Regions from separate parts of the Homo sapiens genome. Here regions 1, 2, 4 and 5 are each linked to region 3. The links are contacts of gene promoters, found by promoter capture Hi-C in human tissues and cell types (Jung and others, 2019). All regions are on one chromosome and are shown on one strand. The core of a region is centred on a gene start or on the middle of the fragment in contact, and the rest is flanking DNA. Distances in the headings are between cores, read along the strand shown. Region 1 overlaps SNTB2 (syntrophin beta 2). Region 2 holds the start of VPS4A (vacuolar protein sorting 4 homolog A). Region 3 holds the start of ZFP90 (ZFP90 zinc finger protein). Region 4 overlaps TANGO6 (transport and golgi organization 6 homolog). Region 5 overlaps UTP4 (UTP4 small subunit processome component).

Region 1 (3,204 bases), core at 277-2,776, 660 kb before region 3:
AGATTGCCACTGCACTCCAGCCTAGGCGACAGAGCGAGGCTCTGTTCCCCTACCCCCCAAAAAAAAAAAAAAAAAAAATCAACTCTGTTACATTGTAAAGGACAACAGAGATCAATATCAAAACATCTCTGGTGAAGAATGGTTTCCAGAATTCACTTTAGTCTTTCATTGCTGTTTTTAGCAGAATTTGTATTTGCCCAGAGCCAGTTTAATTTTTTCAATTACTTTGTGTTCATTGTAAAAAATATGTATTTTTATCCTAGAATGTAATTAATAATCTTTGAAGAGACAATACAGAATCCATAGTACTCAAAAAAATTATCTACACTACTAGTGGTTTTCTAAAATGTTGCCATCCCTTACTGCAATGAAAACAGAGCTAACAATGTAAATACTTTTACTGGCCAACAATTACAGCAAAATGAGGCAAATCAAAGACATTTAGTGTTCAGTAAAACAGATTTTGTTTCATTTGGGCAAAGATTTACTTGTAAAGATGAATATACTTTGGAGAATGCTACTTTGTTAAAACTGGTGTTTTCCAAAAGTAAAATAACATAGTAATATATCAAAAGTAAAAGCAGTAACAAAAAAGTTTGGCTAGAATAATTACAAAAGAAAAATTAATTTTTACATTACAAAACAGTTTGCAGATAATGAATACAATTATTACAAGATATTTCAGAAGTCAGTTATATTACTAATAAAATATTTAAACTATTTTTAAAAAGGGGTACAGAGCCTTGAAAATGGGCTATTTCATCAAATCTGTTTGCTGAAGTTTGAACATCACTGCTTGTTCCAGTCTTTGCTCTCTAGACATGCCTTTCCCCTCTAAACATGCCCTCCATCCTTCCCACCACCCACACCTATTCCATGTCCCACCCTTCTCTCACTTGACCCAAAATACATTCCTACTACTTGCTCACTTATTCCAAGTTCTCTCAGCATTTGTCTACCACTTATAATGTATGAAATACTTTGGATTCACTTATGTGCAGTTTATTAGTATTTACAAACCCATTTTGGGTACTTCTTAAAAGTAAAATCTTTGGGGCTTACATATTCTATTTCTCTCAGAGTGTCTAACAGAGTGTAGTTATTCAATATGAGTTGATTAATTACATACAGCTTTAGGTCCAGCATGAAAAAAAAAAATGAGGAAAAGACTGAGAGACATTAACTGGATAACCTCCAGATAGATGCAACAACACAGAATCCAAAGCACAATTTTCCTGAAAATTAAGCCAATCATAACAATAAATCCTGTCTTTAGACTTGCTAGCTTCTTAACCCAAACTGATCCACCAGAGAGGCAGTCTATTATAATGGTTAATATCAAAGGCTGTGTAGTTTGATAAATCTGAGTAACTAATCTTGCCTCTATCACCTACAAATTCTATAACCTTGCACTGACTGTTTAATCTTCCAGGACTCAATTTATTTATATTTTATATGGGGATGATGCCACCTGACTCACAGGGCTGTTAAAAGAATAAGTTGTGGCCAGGTGCGGTGGCTCACGCCTGTAATCCCAGGACTTTGGGAGGCCAAGGTGGGCAGATCACAAGGTCAGGAGTTCGAGACCAGCCTGACCAATATGGTGAAACTCCATCTCTACTAAAAATACAAAAATTAGCCGGGCATGGTAGCGCGTGTCTGTAATCCCAGCTACTCAGGAGGCTGAGGCAGGAGAATCGCTTGAACCCAGGAGGCAGAGGTTGCAGTGAGCCGAGATCACACCACTACACTCCAGCCTGGGTGACAGGGCCAAACCCCATCTCAAAAAAAAAAAAAAAAGAAAAAGAAAAGAAAAACAAAGTTGTGATCATAAAGAGCTTAGCAGAGTAAGCTCTCCATAAGTGTCATTATTATCTATTTTGATTCCTTTTGTTTTTAAAAATGTACAACTTAGCCACTTTTGTTTTTTCTCTTTTTGAGACAGGGTCTTGCTCCATTGCCCAAGCTGGAGTATAGTGGCTCAAACATGGCTCACTGCAGCCTCAATCTCCCGAGCTCAAGTGATCCTCCCACCTCAGCCTCCCAAGTAGCTGGGACCACAGGCACTCGCCACCTCACCTGGCTAATTTTTTACATGTTTTGTAGAGACAGGGTCTCGCCATGTTGTGCAGGCTGGTCTTGAACTACTAGGCTGAAGTGATTCCACCTGGACCTCCCAAAGTGCTGGGATTACAGGTGTGAGCCAACATGCCCGGCCAAAATTATTTTAAGCCCTATAGCCTGTTATAGTGTACATAAGTTAACCTAGCAACCACCCCACTCCAGATTTTATAGTCTGGTGAGGCTGCCAACCTCAATACACAAGGGATGGGCACGTGACACAGGTCTAGATTGCAGTCTCCATCATTTTGGTAATAGTGATAGGTCCGAGGAACTGGCAAAGCAGAACTATTGGAGTCCTTCCTATCTCCAAACTGATAATGTGAGTGGTAAAAGAACCCTCCAGTTTTTCTTACAGGGGTTAGTTATTAAGTTAAGGCAATATGTTCCTAGAGCTGCAGGCACCATCTTAGCTGACTATACAGAATTAGACCCTCCACAGCAGGAGATGTTGCAGCCAAGATAATTTGAGCCTTTGGATCCCACTGAACCTAAACCTAGATCCACCCCCGGTCTCAGGAGTTACATAAGGCAATACATTCCACTTCTGCTTAAATTAGTTGGTTTTGGGTTTCTGCAACCAAAATAATTCTTACTAAAAAAAAAAAAAAATGCAAACCAGGAACAGTAATTAGTTCATGCCTGTAATCCCAACTACTCCAGAGGTTAAGGCAAGAGGATCACCTGAGCCCAAGAGTTCAGGGCTGCAGTAAGCAATGATCATGCCATTGTACTCCAACCTGGGCAACAGAGTGAAACCCTGTCTCTAAAAAAAAATAATAACAACAAATAGATACTTTTTAAAAATTAAAAATAAATCATATACGTCTATTTTGATAAACAAAGATTTTTCTCCGTCTCTGACTTCAAAAGCTGCCCCTGAGCTCTATATACTTTTGTTGAGCTCTATATACTTTTGTTGTTCTACCTATAAAAATATGATCTCAATGCAGTTACAAACTTGCTTGAAATTCATAGAAATGTGATGTTCAAAATACCAATAAAATACTGAAAATAATTTATTATTCACTTGACATGTCAAGCATTTTTTAAAAGCTCCAACAAGCTCACCTGTACCTAAGC
Region 2 (3,570 bases), core at 920-3,419, 770 kb before region 3:
AAGGACCACCTATTGTATGACTCTGTTTATATAAAGTGGGTTTCTCTGTAGGCAAACCCACAGAGAAAAAAAGTAGATTAGCAGTGGTTGCCCAGGGCTGGGAGAGAGAGGGGTTGTGGGTGAGGGGTTTCTTTTGGAGGTGATGAAAATATTCTAAAAAGTGATTATGGTGATGGTCACACAACCATGAATATACTAAAAGCACTGAATTATACACTTTAAATGGGTGAGTTGCGCTGGGCACAGTGGCTCACATCTGTAATCCCAGCACTTTGGGCGGCCGAGGTGGGCAGATCACACTTGAAGTCAGGAGTTCGAAACCAGCCTGGCCAACATGGTGAAACCCCGTCTCTACTAAAAATACAAAAAAATATTAGCTGGGTGTGATGGGAGGTGCCTGTAATCCCAGCTACTTGGGAGGCTGAGGCAGGAGAATCACTTGAACCCAGGAGGCGGAGGCCGCAATGAGTTGAGATTGTGCCACTGCACTCCAGCCTGGGTGACAGAATGAGACTGTCTCAAAAAAAAAAATTAATAAAAACAAAAATATATAACGGGTGAGTTATATGGTAAGCACGCAAGTTATACCTTAATAAAGCTGTGTTTAGGCCAGACCCGTGGCTCACACCTGTAATCCCAGCACTCTGGGAGGCCGAAGTGGGCAGATCATCTGAGGTCGGGAGTTCGAGACCAGCCTGGCCAACACGGTGAAACCCGGTCTCTACTAAAAATACAAAAATTAGCCGGGCGTGGTTGCGGGTGCCCGTAATCCCAGCTACTCAGGAGGCTGAGGCAGGAGAATCGCTTGAACCTGAGAGGCAGAGGCTGCAGTGAGCCAAGATCACACCACTGCACTCCAGTCTGGGTGACAGAGTGAGACTCCATCTCAAAAAAATAAATAAATAAAATTTAAAAATAAATAAATACACCTGTGTTTGAAACTGAAAAACATTCTCGGTTCACGGGCCATAAAAAACCTGCCTGGGCAGACGGGATCTGCGGCTTCTGCTGGTGGTACGGTGGGATCTGGCTATGGACTCTTAATTCCTAACCTGGTACCCCAACTCATTCCATGTCTGCTCCTACTTCTGCCCTCCTCCACCTCCAGGTCTCTGAATGCTACTGGAACTCTGATGTCCCTTCTTCCATGAAGTCTTGCCTAACTCTCCCAGGCACTTTGTTGGCTGTCACTTAATGGACACCTACTATGTGCCAGACATACAAGAATGCTTTACCGTAATTATTCAATTTAAAGCTATCATCACAACAACCTAGAGGGCATTACCCCATTTTACAGACCAGGAAACTCGAGACCCGAAGATGAAAAAAAAAAACTAGCCCAAGGTCACTTGCTGGTGAGTGGCAGAGCTGAGATTCAAACCCCGGAATGAGGCCTGAGCATGTTGATCTCTTCTGGCCCCGCAGGACTGACAGCACCTAGAGGGTGGGTCAGTTGTTCACCCAGGTGGCGCCATCCCAGCACCACCCTGCAGGATCTAGGGAATGAATGAAGGGTCGCTGGCCGAGAAGAGGAAGTCGAAGATTGGGGAAGGGGCCGGGGCTTGTTCGAAGTGAGGTCGAGGGACTTCCAGGACCCGGGACAGGAGAGGAGGGAGCGAGACAGGAGAGGAGGGAGCGAGCATCGCTGTCTGAACGCCCAGCCGGACCCCGGGCCGAGCTTCCTGAGGGTGCCTGTGCGGCTCGGGTGAGGCTGATCCCCACGGCGGTACCGGGGCGCCGGCTACACGAAGCGGCCCTGGGGCTGGGCCAGCCGGGCAGGGCCGGAAGGCCTGAGGGTGGAGATGCCACCCGGCTCCGAGCGCGTGGAAACAGACACGGGCGGAAGCGGCGAGGGGGCGGCCGGAGCGGGGTCGCGAGGCCGGGGCTGGGAGGCGCCCACCTGACCACCCGCCCGCCGCCCGGCTCTGCGGCCCGCAGGCCCCGCTGCCTTCGGCCTCCGAAGTCGGGCCGGGCCGCACGAAGTACCTGGAGGGTTGACGTTGTCATTTCATCTCCTGGGTCCGCCCCACACCCCGCGGCGCTGCTTGCGGCCTCGGTCCGGCCCCGGGGAGCCGAGGTACTGGGTCCGGCGCGGGAAGCCCGGCGGTGGGCGCTGAGCGCGGTGCGCGGGCAGGGCGGCCGCTCGCAGCGGGAGCCGAGTCCGAGGGCAAGCGAGGAGCGCAGCCCAGAGCGGTCGGGCCCGAGCCGAGCGGCTGCCCCCTAGCGTCCACGGCTCGCACTGCAGGCACCTCTCCCTGCCTCGGCGAAGGCAGGGGGCGGTTCGAGAGGCAGGACTGACTGGGGACGAGGAGGTGGGACTAGGGCGAGACGGACAGGGGGCGGGGACGGGGTGGGTGGGACAAGGCCGGGGCGGGGCCTGGCGGGACGTACATTCTCGGGGCGGGGCCAGGGGCGGAGCGGGGTAGAATCCGGAAATCCTGACCTCGCTTGGAATAACAGCGCCCATTGAGCAGTTTTATTCTCACAATAAAACGAACTTATCAGAGCGTTGGTTTCTCCATGTTTAATATCGCACGATCATAATTAGTACCTGCCTTGTCTGGCTTTTGTGGGGAATAAATGAGCTAGCTAATGTAAACAGAGTGTGCCCCACACTGGGGCTCAATCCCTGGTGGGATGCCGCTGACTGTTCAAAGCCAGTTTTGTTTTGCTTGGATTGATTGACTGATTGATTGATACGGAGTCTTGCTCTGTCGCCTAGGCTGGAGTGCAGTGGCATGATCTCGGCTCATTGCGACCTCCGCCTCCCGGGTTCAAGCGATTCTCCTGCTTCAGCCTCCCGAGTAGCTGGGATTACAGGCATGCACACCTACTGTGTGCAGCGTTGTGTGCTAGTTTCTGGGGATACAATGATCAAAGCAGTTCTAGGGCTGGGTGTACTGGCCCACGCCTGTAATTCCAGCACTTTGGGAGGCCAAGGCAGGAGGATTGCTTGAGCCGAGGATCAAGACCAGCTTGGGCAACATAGTAAGACCTCGTCGCTAAATTAAGAAACAAAACAAAACAAACAAACAAAAAAACGCACCAGAGGCAAGTGATCCATTTGTCCACAAGTCTATCCTGTGAGAGAAAAAAAATGGAGGGCAAAAAACATCCAAGTTGAGGCTGGGTATGGGGGCTCATGCCTGTAATCCCAACACTTTGGGAAGCCGAGGCAGGCCGATTGCTTGGGCCGAGGAATTCGAGAACAGCCTCGGCAACAGGTGAACCCCCATCGCTACAAAAAATAAAAAACGTATCTGGGCATGGTGGCGCACACCTGTAGTCCCAGCTACTCCGTAAGCTGAGTTGGGAGAATTGCTGGAGCCTGGGAGGTCGAGGCTGTAGTGAGCCGTGACCAGGCCATTGTACTCCACCCTGGGAAATGAAGCAAGACCCTGCCTCCAAAAAAAAAAAAAAAAAAAAAAAAAAAAAAAAAAAAAAAAAACCAAAAAATTGGCACACCTTAATCTCTCTTCACAAAATGCTAATTAAATACAAAGGAGAGGCCGGGCGCGGTGGCTCACGCCTATAATCCCAGTACTTTGGGAGGCCGAGGCAGGTGGATCA
Region 3 (3,104 bases), core at 437-2,936:
AGATCATGTCACTGTACTCCAGACTGGGTGACAAGAGACCCTGTTTCAAAAAAAAAAAAAAAAAAGGCATGATGTATTGTATGCTTAATTCACTATAAACTGCTCTTTTAAAGGACATTACTAAGTTGGTGTTTTTATCTTTTAAATTTTTTTTTTTTTTTTTTTTTTGCAGAGACGGAGTCTCACTATGTTGCCCAGGCTGGTCTCAAATTCCTGGGCTTAAACGATCCTATTGCCTCAGCTTCCCAAAGTGCTGGACTTACAGGTGTGACCCACTGTACCTGGCAACTTGGTATTTTTATTTGAATTGATCTTGATGTCTCACACACCTAGCAACTACAATCTGTCATTTTCCCTTAATTCTAAAGAGAATGTAGATTCAAAGATACAGATACCATCTGGATCTTGATGTATTTTCACCAATATGTAAATCAATGGATAACCTTAGAGTTGTGACGCTTCTAGAAAATGCCCCCTCTGCCACAAGAATAAATGGGTTCACGAATCAGCCTCACATTAAGGTGAAGGCTGGACTTCTGGCGGTGGGGAGTGAGTTGCTCTATTACATTTTTGTTAAAGCAGAAAAGGACAGACACAAAAAGCTCTGGGAGAATCAGCCCTGGTTTTATTTTTGGTTGTTTTTTATTTTGTTTTGTTTTTGCCTCCTTGCCCAAGAAAGCCCATCTCCAGCCTCTTCCTAGACATGTTCTAACCAGGCTTCTACGGCCCCTTACGGACTCTCTATGGGCCCTGGGTCAGAAGCTGGGGCTCCTCTCTCCACACTTGCCGACAGTCACTTCCTCCTCTACAGTGTTCCATCCTGTGACCCCACTCTCTCCATTTCTTATTGACAAGAGTTCAAAAAACTGGCGTGGCATTCAGGACTCTCAAAACTGACACTTCCCAACGCATCCAATCTCAACTCCTCCCACAAGATCGCACCACACTGGCCCTCTCTACCCCACAGAGCAGCCTCCCCTTTGGGAATCCAGCTCCCCAAAGCCTGGGGTTTTCCATGGCCAGGAGGCTCCGATCGAGCCAAGCAAGTAAGGGAGTCGCCAGGCAGAGAACAATGACTGCTCCAAACACCCTTGGGAGATGGGATGGATAGATGGATGGGATGCCCAGGAGGTTAGGAACGCGTTGCTCACCTGGGGCGCGGCGGTCGGAGGCCTCGGGGCCATTCCTGCCTCGCCAGGGCCCGGCTCCGGGGCAGGAGCTGGGGAGAAAGGACAGGGCCCACTCACCCCGCTGCAACACCGACCCCACCCCGCCCCGCCCCGCCCCACCTCCGCCCCTAAACCACATCTCCAGGGGAGATGGTGGCGAGGACCGTGGAACCAGCCCGGGCCTGCCGCTCCCCATCCCCGAAATGAAAGGCTCAGCGGCCTCCCGGACACCCCCCTCCGGCCACGCCCAGTCCCCTTCGCAGGGTGGTGGGCGAGGCCCGGCTGACACCCGCCAAACCCAGGAGGGGTCCCGCCCAGACCCGCGCACTCAGAATCACCGCCTCTGGGGGGCTCCGGATTTCGCGACCTCCGGCCCACCCAGAGCCTCGGGCAGCTCCTCCCGCCCCCGCCGAAGCCTCGGTTATCTCCAATTCTGATCTGCGGAGGGGCTGCCCAAAGGGGCCTCAGCCGCACCGGGGTCGGACAATGGCCGCAGCGGTGGGGCAGAACTGGAAGTGCGCCTGCGCACTCGGAGCCTCGCTCCTGCAACCCCGGGTCCACGCCGGGCGCGCGAACTACACTTCCCAGAGGCCCGCGCGCGCAGGCCCCGCCTAGGCGGCTTCCGAAGGCGCGTTAGGGACCCTTGCGAGGGCCGAGGGAGGCGGCCAGTGTGGCTCGAGTGTGCGTGTCCCTGTATTCCAGTCACTGTCCGCCTCCTCTTTGCAAGGGGCTTGTTGCTAGCTGGGGAATCGGCCGGGAAAGACCCTGGTTTCGGGGAGCAATCGTACGCCCCTTTCGACGAGGCTGACGATAAAAACGCAAACATGTCAACAAGATAATGTCAGGTCCTGACTTCAGCGGTAAGAGTGACACAGGAAGGGAGTGAGACAGCGTCAGAGGGTGGGGCATTTACATCTTCTTCAAAAGGCAATTTTCCATTTCTCATTTTAGAGAAAAAAGAAACTTCGGACAAATCCGTGGCCTCCTGAGCAATGTGCAAAGGCAGATCTACTGCCGTGTTATTTCATTACTTCGTATCCCCTTACGCAGGATTTTGTTTGGGACAAGCAAACAATGATGGAAATTTTCTTTTTTTTTTTTGAGACACAGTTTCGCTCTTGTTGCCTAGGTTGGAGTGCAATGGCGCGATTTTGGCTCACCGCAGCCTCCGCCTCCTGGGTTCAAGCGATTCTCCCGCCTCAGCCTCCCGAGTAGCTGGGATTACAGGCATGCGATGCGTCACCAGGCCCGTCTAATTTTGTATATTTAGTAGAGACAGGTTTTCTCCATGTTGGTCATGCTGGTCTCGAACTCGCCTCGGCCTCCCAAAGTGCTGGGATTACAGGCATGGGCAACCGCGCCCGGCCCGATGGAAATTTTCAACACAAAGATAGGTCAACTTTTAGATACAGCTATTACGTTTATGTAATTATGTCTTATATATCACAGACATTCAGGCTACATTTCCTAGATTTCAGCTTGATTTCTTAACATTAGAGCATTGCATACCAACATGGTAGAAAATGACTGCAACGAAATGTTCCTGATGTCACACTGCTTTATCAAAAATATGAACATTCAAAAATAAATGCTTTATGCCGGGTGCGGTGGCTCAAGCCTGTGATCCCAGCACTTTGGGAGGCTGAGGCTGGCGGATCACCTGAGGTCAGGAGTTCGAGACCAGCCTGACCAACATGGAGATAGCTCGTCTCTACTAAAAATACAAAATTAGCCAGGCTTGGTGGCGCATGCCTGTAATCCCAGCTACTCAGAAAGCTGAGGCAGGAGAATCGCTTGAATCTGGGAGGCAGAGGTTGTGGTGAGCCGAGATTGCACCATTGCACTCCAACCTGGGCAACAACAGCAAAACTCCATCTCAAAAAAAACAAAACAAAAAAGGGAGAAAATTTCCATCACTGTTGGCTTGTCCCAAAC
Region 4 (3,515 bases), core at 910-3,409, 540 kb before region 3:
TGGGATGCTAAGGTGGGTGGATTGCTCGAGCCCAGGAGGTCAAGGCTGCAGTGAGGTATGATTATGCCACTTCACTCCAGCCTGGGTGACAAAGTGAGACCCTGTCTGTTAAAAAGAAAAAAAAATTGGCCAGGCATGGTAGCTCATGCCTGTAATCCCAACACTTTAGGAAACCGAGTAAGGAGGATTGCTTGAGCCTAGGAGTTTGAGACAAGCCTGGGCAACATAGCGAGACCTCATCTCTGCTAAAATTTTAAAAATTAGCCAGGCATGGTGGTGCACACCTGTGATCCCAGCTACTCGGGGGTGCTGAGGTGGGAGAATTCCTTGAGCCCAGGAGGTCAAGGCTGCAGTGAGCCATGACTGCACTACTCCATACCAGCTTGGGCAACAGAGCAAAACTGTCTTAAAATAAAGGTCAGGCACGGTGGCTCATGCCTGTAATCCCAGCACTTTGGGAGGCCAAGTTGGGCAGATCACCTGAGGCCAGGAGTTCAAGATCAGCCTGGCCAATATGGAGAAACCCTGTCTCTACTAAAAAACACAAAAATTAGCCAGGCATGGTGGTGCGCACCTGTGGTTCCAGCTACTTGGGAGGCTGATGCTTGAGCCTAGGAGTTGGAGGTTGCAGTGAGCCAAGGTTGTGCCAATGCACTCCTGCCTGGGTGACACAGTGAGACTCTGTCTCAAAAAAAAAAAAAAGAAAGAAAGAAGAAATAGATCAATAAAGAGCTAGGCATAATGGCACATACCTGTAATCCCAGGTACTCAGGAGGCTGAGGGGGGAGGACTGCTTGAGTCCAGAAGTTGAGAATAGCCTGGGCAACGTAGTGAGACCCCACCTCAAAAAAAATCAATAAAGAACAGATGTTTTCAGCCACTTGCCAAATAGTTCAAATTAAGAGGTGATCTATAAATAGAGATAAAGGTACTAGGATGCTTCATGAGGCACTCGAGGATTTTGGACTAGATAGTGTCTTAGACTAATCAAGGTGGTCAATCAGGATCTGTCCTCAGAACTGGAATGCGGTTAATGCAAATGAAGTTGTAAGTAAAATGGATTGTGCAACACATTCGATCTGCTGGTCTGAAGTGGGTTGCGTGGAGTCTAGTTAAAGGAAGGCCAAGAAACAAGCATTTTTATTGTACATCCAGCTGGCCCAAAGGAGATTCTTCTTAGATTTGAAAGCCACAATGCCCATTTTCTAGACATCCTTGATTTGGAGAATAGAAATTAATCCAGCTACACTAGCTGAATGGAAATATTCCTTAAACACACCTAGCTAGATTTGTTCTAACTCTCTGCTCACTAAGCTCACTTGTGATCCTGTTCATAAGATGGCCTCTTTAAAGGGATGCCACCAAGGAAGATCTGACTCAGAACCATGTCTGTGATCTGGCCAGAGAGAAATATCCTGTTGTTAACTAGCAAATAGCCATGTTTGTGTATAGATCCTTCAGTCACTCGAGCTTTTGGAAACTGCGTTTTGGTTCCTGTGGATCTAGTCACCCCAGAGAGCGTGATAAAATCCTGTGATAAAATTCTGTACCTAGCCCTGCAAAGCTGAGGACTGATCAAGCATCTCTGGGTTGGCCTCATCAAGGTGTTGACAACAGAGAGGGCTAATATGAAGCAGCCAGCCAGTATCTCCTTTCTGTTATCTCTTTTAGCTGCAATCAAAATGCAGCGGCCAAAACATATAAAGAAATAAAGTGGAGACCACAGTGCTATATCTGAAATTGTTTCAACAGCCCTGGCATTAGGCCACCAGCATGCATTCTTTCCAGCCTGCATTCAGTGTGAACCCATTGTCTAGGCATTCATCTTTCTGAAGGAGCAGAGGACAGAAGGCAGGATGTAAACTCTCTGGATGCTCGTGGTTCTTTTCTCCTGATAATCAGGGCAACTCTCTGCAAACAGCAGCAGGAGTGAAGAAGAATGGCCTGGGAGGATAAATACAGGGCTTACCCTTCTTCTCTGGAAGAGTCAACCAGCTTGATTGTCCTTTCTGGGCATCAGAGCCTCTTCAACTCCACAGTTTTCCATCTCGACACCAGAGGACCAGATTTAGCCCTGTTCTTTCCATCCAAGATAACTTTATTCCATTTTGCATTATTTGATAACTATTTCCTTCCCCTCCCCACCTCCAACTGCATCTCCTACTCTGAAATGCCTCTTGAGCAGCCAAGGGTGGCCAGTTCTGCTCCTCATTTTCCTGAAGAAGAATCTCAGCCTGAAAGAATATAGAGCTAGGTGACATATGGGTGGCCAACCGCTTCTCCTCAAGTTCCAAGAGAGTGGGCAATTAGTGAAATTCCATCAGTCATGTTAAAATATACTTTCACCAGGTAGACATCCTTCTTTCAATGCTAGAGGACAGTGAAAAATGTAGATTAATGAGATCTGTAACTGTCTTCTCTTAACTGTACACCCCTCAGGCTGAACGCGGGAGTGCTGAACACATGCCCTCGGAAGGGACCCTGAAGACCCAAGTGACCTGCACCATAAAACCACCCCGAGGGTCAGCCATGCTGCCAGCACTCAAGAGGCAGCAGGGCCACCTGCTGGAAGACCTGGGCACGGCTCTGGGTGCCTGGCCCTGCCTGCCTCCTCCACGTCCTTGGAGCCAGGTCTACGGCAGGACCATGATCTTCTTCTCCAGCTTCTGTGGAGGGAACAGGAAGTTTTTCATGATGTCATCCAGCTCTTCTAGGGCCAACTGGGCATGGAGCTTGGCCACGTCATCGGGCTCCAGACACACTACGTGCTTCAGCAGGTGGTAGAGATCCTTGAGGACGGCGCTCAGCACCTGCATGAGAGAGACAGCCATGACCGCCTGTCTACTGTGCCGGCATTTCTCAGTACGACTGAACTGCCCTCTCCTCCTGCCTGAGGAGATCTGTGAGGACATCCACAGACTTCCTGAAGATAATGTGGCTGGGTGCAGTGGCTCATGCCTGTAATCCGCACTTTGGGAGGCCAAGGCAGGCAAATCACTTGAGTCCAGGAGTTTGAGACCAGCGTGGGCAACGTGGCAAAACCCCATCTCTACAAAATATACAAAAATCAGCCGGGTGTGGTGGCGCATGCCTGTAGTCCCAGCTACTGAGGAGGCTGGGGTTGGGAGGATCATCTGAGCCTGGGAGGTCAAGGCTAAAGTGAGCCATGACGGTGCAGAAAAAAAAAAAAAAAAAAAAAGAAGATAATGCATGGCCATCTTGGGTTGGAGAAGGAGGCAGGGGTGGCGCTAGCCCTCGTACTGAGATAGGTTTCCCATTGTGTTTCTCACTCACCCCATGCCTAGCTACATGGCCTTGGGGCTTCTGCTCCCCTTTACTCCCAGGCCAAATCATAGTTCCCAGACTCCTTTATTCAGTCCCAAAGCATGGCAGAGACCTCAGGACCACAGACAGGCAAGACTGCCCAGATATGGTTGCTCCCAGAGCAAATGATTACCAGCATTTTCCTCCCCAGATCCCCATAAAGCCCTCTGCTGGCACCCACAGTACGGGCA
Region 5 (3,553 bases), core at 25-2,524, 630 kb before region 3:
TTCTTAGTTGAATTTGCTATACTCTCCACGGTACATGTGAATTATCCATTCAGAGATTAGTTTACTAACCAGTACATGAGAAGAGTGAATTTTTAAAGCATTTGAGTCAGATTGGCAAAAAAGACCGTTCCTGGGCTGGTTTCAAATCAGAATTTTTCTGTAGAACCCAAGAATGAGCAGAGGTATGCAAAATGGCCAAAACAGAAACATAACGCCAAGAGGGAAACGTTTTAAATGTCTAGGTTACACAAACCCCCAAAGTAAAAACACCCTGAAACCCATGCACTAAAGCGTTCCCCTTTTTTAATACTGGTTTTCCTTCCCTTCCCTTCCCTTCCCCTCACATCCCCTCCCCTCCTCTCCCCTCTCCCACAGTCCCTTCCCCTCACATTCCCTCCCCTCCTTTCCCCTCCCTTCCCTTCCCCCAATTTCTCTAACTTGCCCTAGTCAGTTTCTGCTTCATTTGTATTCCAAGTTTTCTACTTCGGAAGAATTTCAAGGCCCAAAGCACTTACTTCCCATACCATTTAAGGAAGTACAAATCACTGGCTGGAAAAGTTGAAAAGGAATGCTTTCTACTTTCAGAACTTTTACTTCCTCATTCAGATGATCTGTGGGCTCTCTCTGTGAGAATTACATCCTCCACAACCCACAAGATTTTAGAATTTAAGTAAGTTAAGCCATAAACTAGATTCCAGTTGACAAGGATTCTCTGAATTTACAGCTCTACAACGAGTGAAAAGCAAGTGAGTTAATTTATTATTTTATTTTGAGATGGAGTCTCGCTCTGTGCGATCTTGGCTCACTGCAACCTCTGCTTCCCAGGTTCAAGCAGTTCTCCTGCCTCAGCCTCCCAAGTAGCTGGGATTACAGGCGTGTGCCACCATGCCTGGCTAAGTTTTGTATTTTTAGTAGAGATGGGGTTTTGCCATGTTGGCCAGGCTGGCTTGAACTCCTGAACCTCAAGTGATCTGCCTGCCTTGGCCTCCCGAAGTGCTGGGATTACAGGTGTGAGCCACTGCACCGGGCCACAAGTGAGTTACTATTTAAGGCATCCTAGCCTCCATCTGTTCACAAGTATTCAATGTAGACCAGCAACTTGAACTTGTCATTTCAACCACTTAAAACATTTCTTAGAAAGGACAGAATCTTCAGTAAACTAAAAAGGTCCCTAATAGTCCAGTCTAATCCAGACTGGAAAAATATACCTTACAGAAAAAAATGTATTCAACAAGAGGCAAGTTTTTTTTTACACAGGTGACCTAAAAAGTTGCAGGTATTTTGTTTTCTTTGAGAGAGGGTCTCAAAAAAATCTAGGCTGGAGTGCAGCGGCGTGCTCAGGGATCACTGCAGCCTCTTCCTCCTGGGCTCAAGCAATCCTCCCACCTCAGCCTCCTGAGAAGCTGGGACTACAGGTGCTTGCCACCACGCCTGGCTAATTTTTGTATGTTTTGTAGGGATGGAGTTTCACCATGTTGCCCAGGCTGGTCTCAAAGTCCTCAGTTCAAGCTATTTGCCAGTCTCAGCCTCCCAAAGTGCTGGGATTACAGCCATGGCGCCCAGCAGGTATTTGTTTAAATTACTCCTATCACTGTAAAACCTAACAGGTGGGGCAGAGGCAAAGACATCCATTATAAATCTTATCATATCTGTTCTTTCTTATCAAACCTAAAATAGGCTGTCCTTTATGTGATAAATTATTGGGCTCTGTTTATCTCTCTTATAACCTCTCTCTCTCTGTTAATTCTCCCCCCAAACATCTACCTTAAATCCTCATTTATTTTCCCTTTCCAGAATGGAGGGTGGGGCTAATCATAGCAAAATGTTTTTCACCAACCCTTCATTCAAGATGTTATCAGAACCCACACACTTCTCTGCCCACACTTCAGCCCTCCATCCCCAAAACAAACAAAAACCACACAAACTGGGTTTACGCAGGCATGCAACAGAATACATCCCGAGAAGGGAAAGAAATCTATCTGCTCAGTTTAGTTAACTAGAGTTCTTCACTTTCTAATTTAAAGATCACATTAAAACTGGCCAGTTGATAACACACGTGGGAATAACAATGTCAGAGCAGGTAGAAGAGAATGAAAAATGTGAAATACATGGTGGGCTCTCGGGTCCCCATCTCTACTCTTAATCCCTAACAAAATTCCTGCCCAGTGTTTCCTTACCCTTTTTTTTTTTTTTTTTTTTAAAGAGACAGGGTCTCACACTATGTTGCCCAGGCTGGAGTGCAGTGGCTATTCACCAGTATGATCATAGCACACTATGGTCTCAAGCTCCTGGGCTCCACTGAGCCTCTCGAGTAGCTGGGACTACTGATGTGTGCCCAGCTCCTGTATCTTTTTTTTCATATTGTATTTCTTTAGGGATAGGGTCTCCCTATGTTGCCCGGGTTGGTCTCTGGACTCAAGGATGCTCCCACCTTGGCCTCCTAAAATGCTGGGATTACAGGCATGAGCCACCATGCCTGGCCCTTCCATACCTTTTGAAACCAGCACATAACAGGTAAAAAGGCAGTTAATGGGACTGATAACCCAAGCTTTTTTTACTTTTAAATAAAATTAACGGCTGACTGTCAAAGGTCAAAGGCATCTATTTTTTAGATGGAGCACTCCCTTATAATGCTGGAGTTGAAATTCTTCCTTGAACTCTAAGGCTGATTATGGTTATTAGTGGTCAGGCTATCCTGGGTAAGTAATTACGGTCCTCTGCCCTCCAGGGCGAGGATGGGCAGATTCCTACGCAGTTCCATGGGCTGGGGGCTGGCAGGAAGTGAAGGCTATCAGCTCTCTGAAGCCTTAGGCATGTAATAGGGAACAGAACACAAATATCTTTTCTTCTGAGATTGCGGCCTACAGAATAAGCAGGACTCAATCAACATTAGATGAGTTTGTAGCTACTGAGCACATTATCCCCAATACAAATACCTCATTTGGAATTTCCATTCATTTTCATTCAATGAAGGGAAATGACTGTCCATTATTTTGGAAGAAAACATTTATAATGACTAGTCCTCAAGAATAACTTGTTTTATTACCATGATTTGTGAAAAGCAACAGGGTAGACAGTTCAAGGAAGGACACAGACAGTGCCCTGTTTTAGGTTCCAAATTTCTTCTTTTTAATGGGTGGTGGGAGCTGAGCAATGATGTCATCCAGAGGCCGTTCTACTGCCACGAGTGTTCTTTCATCCAAAAGATCCATGAAGAGTAGAGGCTGCAGAGGGATGATAATTATTCTATCAGGACTTAGGATCCAGGGCTAGTCCTGAAAGAACTGACTGTAGGTAGACACCATCTAAGCTAAAAGGTTAGCCTAGTTCAAGGCTCAAATGATTTAAATTTCTTGACAATCTTTCCTGCCCTGGGACTCAAAATAGTTGGAATGCATAAAAGCTTTTTTTTTTATTTTTTAGAGATCTTGCTATGTTGCCTAGGCAGGAGAGCAGTGGTCATTCATAGACATGATCAACGTGCACTGAAGCCCTGAACTCCTGGGCAATCATCCTGCCTCAGTCTCCTGAGTAGCTGGGACAATAGGTAGGT

The links. Contacts are between HindIII fragments. The study calls those that stand out against the background at their distance.
Region 1: a fragment that was not itself captured here is called in contact with the fragment with the promoter of ZFP90 in region 3 in 2 of the 25 tissues and cell types used here (bladder and liver).
Region 2: the fragment with the promoter of VPS4A here is called in contact with the fragment with the promoter of ZFP90 in region 3 in 3 of the 25 tissues and cell types used here (dorsolateral prefrontal cortex, lymphoblastoid cells and mesenchymal stem cells).
Region 4: a fragment that was not itself captured here is called in contact with the fragment with the promoter of ZFP90 in region 3 in 2 of the 25 tissues and cell types used here (dorsolateral prefrontal cortex and spleen).
Region 5: a contact is called between a fragment that was not itself captured here and the fragment with the promoter of ZFP90 in region 3, in 4 of the 25 tissues and cell types used here (H1 embryonic stem cells, dorsolateral prefrontal cortex, lymphoblastoid cells and 1 more).

Annotation. Positions count from the first base shown.
Region 1 is chr16:69,194,973-69,198,176 of GRCh38, reverse strand. All of the region lies in intron 1 of SNTB2 (syntrophin beta 2), which reads right to left. Among named protein-coding and RNA genes, the nearest start is that of SNTB2, 9.4 kb to the right of the region's middle. The HindIII fragment of the contact is 9,382 bases long and covers 1-3,204 here.
Region 2 is chr16:69,309,949-69,313,518 of GRCh38, reverse strand. It overlaps VPS4A (vacuolar protein sorting 4 homolog A), which reads right to left and starts at 2,169. Exons shown (of 11, transcript NM_013245.3): 1 at 1,987-2,169. The coding sequence starts at 2,007. RefSeq lists silencers at 1,705-2,254, 2,315-2,454 and enhancers at 1,397-2,346, 2,347-3,297. The HindIII fragment of the contact is 10,929 bases long and covers 1-3,570 here.
Region 3 is chr16:68,537,873-68,540,976 of GRCh38, reverse strand. It overlaps ZFP90 (ZFP90 zinc finger protein), which reads right to left and starts at 1,686. Exons shown (of 5, transcript NM_001305203.2): 1 at 1,498-1,686; 2 at 1,152-1,219. The coding sequence starts at 1,184. The HindIII fragment of the contact is 20,432 bases long and covers 1-3,104 here.
Region 4 is chr16:69,082,780-69,086,294 of GRCh38, reverse strand. It overlaps TANGO6 (transport and golgi organization 6 homolog), which reads right to left. Exons shown (of 18, transcript NM_024562.2): 18 at 1,113-2,810. The coding sequence ends at 2,634. It also overlaps a transcript of HAS3 not described here. Among named protein-coding and RNA genes, the nearest start is that of HAS3, 21 kb to the left of the region's middle. The HindIII fragment of the contact is 8,371 bases long and covers 1-3,515 here.
Region 5 is chr16:69,168,492-69,172,044 of GRCh38, reverse strand. UTP4 (UTP4 small subunit processome component) reads right to left here. Exons shown (of 17, transcript NM_032830.3): 17 at 3,024-3,224. The coding sequence ends at 3,108. Among named protein-coding and RNA genes, the nearest start is that of SNTB2, 17 kb to the left of the region's middle. The HindIII fragment of the contact is 7,652 bases long and covers 1-3,553 here.